Linked DNA regions of Homo sapiens: region 2 is linked to region 1. Evidence: promoter capture Hi-C in human tissues and cell types (Jung and others, 2019). All regions are on one chromosome and are shown on one strand. Each heading gives the region's core, a stretch centred on a gene start or on the middle of the fragment in contact. The rest is flanking DNA. Distances are from core to core; before and after follow the strand shown.

Evidence for each region. Contacts are between HindIII fragments. The study calls those that stand out against the background at their distance.
Region 2: a contact is called between a fragment that was not itself captured here and the fragment with the promoter of WNT6 in region 1, in 2 of the 25 tissues and cell types used here (liver and lymphoblastoid cells).

What each region holds. Positions count from the first base shown.
Region 1 is chr2:218,858,450-218,861,222 of GRCh38, forward strand. WNT6 (Wnt family member 6) reads left to right here and starts at 1,356. Exons shown (of 4, transcript NM_006522.4): 1 at 1,356-1,668. The coding sequence starts at 1,589. The HindIII fragment of the contact is 31,874 bases long and covers 1-2,773 here.
Region 2 is chr2:218,183,774-218,186,911 of GRCh38, forward strand. LOC124906159 (small nucleolar RNA U13) reads right to left here and starts at 1,309; the gene lies at 1,206-1,309. The HindIII fragment of the contact is 7,861 bases long and covers 1-3,138 here.

The DNA of each region.
Region 1 (2,773 bases), core at 106-2,605:
TTGTCCCCCCTCTCTGGGTGACTCAGGATCTTGTCTTCTCTCTCTGCTCACCAAGGTTGTTTGGAAGTGACCTCAGTCATCACTCTCTTGGAAGCGACCTCAGTCCCCACATTCAGGTCCCCCTCTCTACCAACAACCAGGAGCTTTCTTCTGGGCGCCTGACGTTTCTGCCATAGGGACTCGATCTGTCCTCCCCACTCCAGGACAGCTTTAAAGGTTGATGGTTGCTCTTGATGGTATGGCAGGGAGAATGTCCCACACCACCTGTCCCTTGGCACCCCGGGGCACGTCGGGGACGGGAGGGGCAGGGGCTGCTGCCCACTGCCAGCCGAATGGCATGATGAATGGAGCTGTCCCTCTTCCCCACGGAGCCTTTGATCTCCCCCTCGTGGGGAGGGGGCCAGGGGCATCAAAGACATTTTTGTGGCATTAGAAAATCTGATAAACGCCATCTCACCTGCAGCTGGCTCTCCCACCCCTTCTACCCGGGCCAGGTTGGGGGAGGAACTCGAGGCAGGGACTCTTGGACACGCGAGGCCGGGCTAAAGCGAATTCTGACCCCTCGATCTCTTGAAAGTCTGCGACCTCCATTCTCCCGCTCGCTTACAAGTGCCAGCGCTTGCGCGCACGCCCTGGAGCGGCTACTCTTGCCCTCTCATTTCCCCCACCTCCCCGCCCTAGAACGCGGGCTTGAGAGGTGGGATGGCTGGGGGAGCGAGAGCGGAGGCCCAGGGCTTCCTCCCTTCTTCAAGGAGAGGCTGACGAAGGGGCATGAGGCATCGAACAGGGACACGGAAAGAGATGACCCCTCCAGCATCCGCCTGTCGGGCGGTCCAGTTTGACAACCCTCGCCGAAGCACCCCGCGCCCCAGGCCAACTTCCTCTCTTGCCTCCGCGCCAGCATCTCCCTCCGCACCGCCCCCCGCCCCAAACTCCCTCATTCCTGGGAAGTTTTCTCTCTTTACAGTCAACAAACCTGTCAAACGTCTCCCTTCCAGCCCGTCCCCCATTCCTCAGCTCCTCTTTCTCCCCCCTCACCCCTCTCTACTCTTCTTCCCAGCCCTTCCTTGCCCCCGACTCCAGGCGGCCGCGAGCGGCGGGGGGCTCCAAGTCCGAGAGAGGCGAGGCGAGGGGGCGAAGCGGGCGGGTCCCACAGCCCGAAGCGCGCTGGGGCCCCGCCCCGGCACCCCGCTCCCGCCCTCCGCTGCGCTCCGCGCCAGCCGCCCCGGGGCGCACGGCTCGCTCCCGAGAGTCCCGCTGCCTGACTGTCGCAACTGCCACCTCCCTCCGGCCCCCTGCCCCCCGCCCCCGCCTCGGCCCCGCTCCCCTCCCACCTCCGCCCCCGGCTCTGATTTCTTCTCCCGAGCGAGCTCCGCAGGAGACACAGGCGCTGGCTGCCCCGTCCGCTCTCCGCCTCCGCCGCGCCCTCCTCGCCCGGGATGGGCCCCCCCGCCGCCGCCGGATCCCTCGCCTCCCGGCCGCCGCCGTTGCGCTCGCCGCGCTCGCACTGAAGCCCGGGCCCTCGCGCGCCGCGGTTCGCCCCGCAGCCTCGCCCCCTGCCCACCCGGGCGGCCGTAGGGCGGTCACGATGCTGCCGCCCTTACCCTCCCGCCTCGGGCTGCTGCTGCTGCTGCTCCTGTGCCCGGCGCACGTCGGCGGACTGTGGTGGTGAGTCCGGCTGTCCTGGCGCGGCTCTGGACCCTGGAGGGTGGGGACCCCGGGACCCAGGACAGACTGGGGTGTTCCGCAGCCTCCCGGCTCTACCTGCTCTCCGAGCCCAGCTTTCTGGCCTCGGCCGGGGGCGTTTCTGAACTCCACTTCGACGTTCCTAACCCTCGGGAACATTCTATTGTGTTTCCTCCTCCCGGGTTCTCTCCCACCCCCCGCCAAGTTATGCGCTCACCCAGCTCACCAAGGAACAGGCGAGTGGGTAGGAAAGATCTTTCGGGAAGACACATATCCGAGGAAAAGAATGTGTGAGGAGGGCCCTGGATTCAGGGTATGGGGCTGGATTTGGAGAAGACAGGAACAAGGTGGGAAGCCACAAGGCAGAGAGGGCCACACAGCTGCCCCTTCCCCGCCCTGCTTTGCCTACCAACCCACCGGCTTCTCTCTGGGCTCCTGAGGAGTGGGCCTTAGTGACGACAGAGGGAATATAAAGGGGAAAGTGAGTCAGGACCCTGGTTTTCTCTACCTCGTCCTCCCCAAGCAAGGAAAAGGAGGAGCGGAAGGAACCGGACCCAGGCGCCCGGCCCTTCCAGACCTGGGGGTCATGAATGAAAAAATATGTGCAGCCCGGGAGATACGGGACCGGGAGGGGTCCTGCGGGAAGGGAGAGGGGCCTGGCCAGCCAAGGGAAGGGGGCGTCTTCCCAGGCTTGGCCCTAGCTAGAAGGGACACCTAGGCAGCGAAGGTTGCGGGAGCTTCGAGCCTTGGGGGTGGGGGTGGGGCCGGGGCGGGGAAGGAGGGTGCCCGACCGGGACGGCTCAGAGATCCAGATCCAAAGGACTTTTTTCCCCCTAGGTCTCCAGAGCCGCAAACCCTCGCCCGGAATAGCTCAGTGTTTAGAGAGGAGAGACTTGGACAATAACGCTGACGGGTTAGCCAATCCTAAGAAGGCAGGGTCGTGTCTATTTGCATATTGCCATGTGATTGGCTGGATGCCGACCCTCCGCTCCTCCCTCGCCCCCCAGATTTGGAAGAGAGGCAGATCCCCGTGCTCTGGAGAGATAGGGAGTAGGATGCCCACACAGGGAGTGGCGGGCAGCAATCC
Region 2 (3,138 bases), core at 137-2,636, 670 kb before region 1:
GGTGGCTCTCAGCAGGATGGGGAGTTGAAAAGGGGATGGGGTGGGAAGGCAATCCTCCCCCAAAGCTATACCATCAAACTCTCCCTCTGAAGTCAAGACACTTCTCTCTGACGTCCAGCCATAGTCTCTGACATCCAGCTGCTTCTCCTCTCTCTGCCAGCTGAGCCTGGAGTTTCCATGGGCACAGGATGGGGGGTGGGGCAGGCCATGGGTGATTTGGGAAAAGGCAACATTCATGCAGGAAAACAGAGATGTATGTTCTCACTTTAGGCCGTGGTACCAGGCTTTTCGGCTTGAGGGTGGGGCCCTCGCCAAGGACCCACCCTCTTCTGCCCAGAATTTCCCTGCCTCCTGTCCCTATCACAATGTCTCCAAAGTACAAATTCTATTGCTTTAAACATTTTAAGTGCATTTTAATTAAGTTTATGGCAGAAAAACCTGGCAAACACTACCTTACCCAAGTGAGGAAGGCTCATATCACCAGGGAGGATATATAGACCTCAGGTACAACTGATACAATGTGATGAGAAGGCACCTTATCTCTGGGGTATGCCCTCCAAAACCCATAACCTCAGAGGCATCATGAGAAAAACATCAGGCAGATTGAGGGACATTCTACAGGACACCCGGCCAGTATTTCTGAAGACTGTCAAAGTCATAAAAAACAAGAAAAAAACTGAGCAAAACTGTCACAGACCACAGGAGATTGGGGAGAGCTAACAACTAAATGAAATGTAGTGTCTTGGATTGGATCCTGGAATAGAAAGAGGGGATAATGGAAAAACAGGCCAAATCCAAATAAAATCTGGAGTTTAGTTAATACTTGCTTTTAAAGCACCTACAAATGCTCCTTGACTTGCCATGGTATTATGTCCTGATAAATCCAACATAGAGTGGAAATTTTTAAGTCAAATCATCATAAGTTGGAAACCATCTGTATTTTATTTTATTAAGTTTATTCTTTAAATCAAGAATAGGTTTTGAGCCAGGCTTGGTGGTTCATGCCTGTAATCCTAGTGCTTTGGGAGGCCGAGGTGGCAGGATCCCTTGAGCCCAGGAGTTCAACACCAGCCCGGACAACATGGAGAGCCCCTCATCTATTAAAAAAAAATGGCTTTGAATTTTGTCAAAGGCTTATGAAGATAGTTATATGACTTTTTTTATTCTGAGATACATTCATATGTGAATTATGTATATTTTGTTCATGTCAGATGAGCAACGTGCTGATGTTGTGACAAGGTTTGAGGGAGGCACATCTCATGCATGCACTTGGACACTGAATCATCATGCTTATGAGCTACAAAAGTATCTAGTATGGGAATGATATTGATGGTTTTCCGGTGTTGAATAATGCTTGAATTTTTGGAATAAATCCCACTTTATCATGAGAAAAAGTGAATCTGATAAAACCTAAAGTCCTTAAAGGCCTTCAAGGCTTTACTCTATCTCCCTGCCCTCACCCTCTCCCCCCATCCCACCTCATTACCCCTCTGGATTTGTTTGCTAGGGCTGCCATAACACAGTACCACAAACTGTGCAGCTTGAACAAACGGAAATTTCTTATCTCATAGTTTTGGAGACCAGAAGTTCGAGACCAAAATGTAGCAGGGTTAGTTCCTTCCAAAGGCTATAAGGGAGAATCTAGTCTGTTCTGTGCCTCTTCCCAGCTTTGGTGCTTGCTGGCAATCTTTGGTGTTCCTTGACCAGTAGAGGCATCACCCCAATCTCTGCCTTCCACTTCACGGTGCATTCTTCCTCTGTGCATTTCTCTGTGTCCCTTTTTATATGGACAGCAGTCATATTGGATTAGTGTCCCCCCTCTAATGACATTATCTTAACTAATAACATCTGCAATGACCCCAATTCCAGATAAGGCCACCTTCTGATGTACTGGAGTTTAGAACTTCAAAATATGAATTTGCGGGGAGAGGACACTATTCAACCCATAACACCCTCTAACCACTTCCACTTCACCCCTTGTAGCTCAGCTCCAGACATACTGGCCTTGTACAGCTCTTGCCTTAGGGCATTGACTCTGGCCATTCACCCCCTCAGAAAGCTCTTCCTTAGCTGCTCCTGCAGGTAATTCCCTCACCTCTTCTAAGTGTTTTCTCCAACCCACCTTCTTGCTGAGGCCCACACTGTCCCCCATCTGCATCTGCACCTCCCCAAGACTTCCTGATATCCCTTGCCCTCATCAATTTAACACATGCTTCTTTCCTTGCTGCAGTCATCCCTTCCTAACATCCTATACCATTTGCTTGTTTATTATAGAGGCTATTGTTTATTGTCTGCCTCCTCTGGTGCATATAAGCTTCACGAAGGCAGGGATCCGTATCCATTTTGACCACTGTATCCCATGTGCCTAGGAGACATTACACATCTCCTTGGCAAGTAGAGGGTACAATAAACAGTTGTTGAAAGCAAAGCAAAAGAAGAAAAGAAGGATTCTATTTCTAGAAATTGAGGACCCACCAGTGACTTGCCCTATGTTTCTCTTGCCTCCAGTCTCTGGGAAATAACACTGGAGGGAAAGTTAAGCCCACCACGGCTGTAAGAAATGACTTAGCAGAGCAGGAGACCACTAACTGTTCTGATAACACCTGAGATCACGCAAGGTTGCTTGGTGGGGGGAGGCGGGGGCAGGTGCAGAATCTACTCTTGGAGGCCAGGGCCTGGAGTTGCAAGACCAGTCCAGGAGAGGGCAGCATTATCTTCAAATCAAACCAAATAACTGGAGGAGCACAAGGAAGTAACCCACGTGAAAATTCCTCTACCCTATGGAAGTACAACTGTAAATTGGGTTCGGCAGCCCACGTCTAGAACTTAACACCACCCTTTAAAGTTTGCAAACCCTTTCACATACATTCATTCTCCCCTTAAAGTGCTCCTAGATGAGAGTTTAGCCATTGCCGGAGTGTGAGCGGAGTTTGCACTGAGCAATTAAACGATATCACCCATGTGGTCCCATGTTCCTCAACTTGTCACAGGTTCCAAGCACTTAACAGTCCTGTCCCCATGGTCAACCCCCATTTCCAGCCCACAGACCCTTCTTCCAGAAGGTTCTCAGCCTCTCTGAGTGAACCCACACTTTCAAATACAGCACATTTGGACTTACTGGCCAAGGGATTAAAAGGT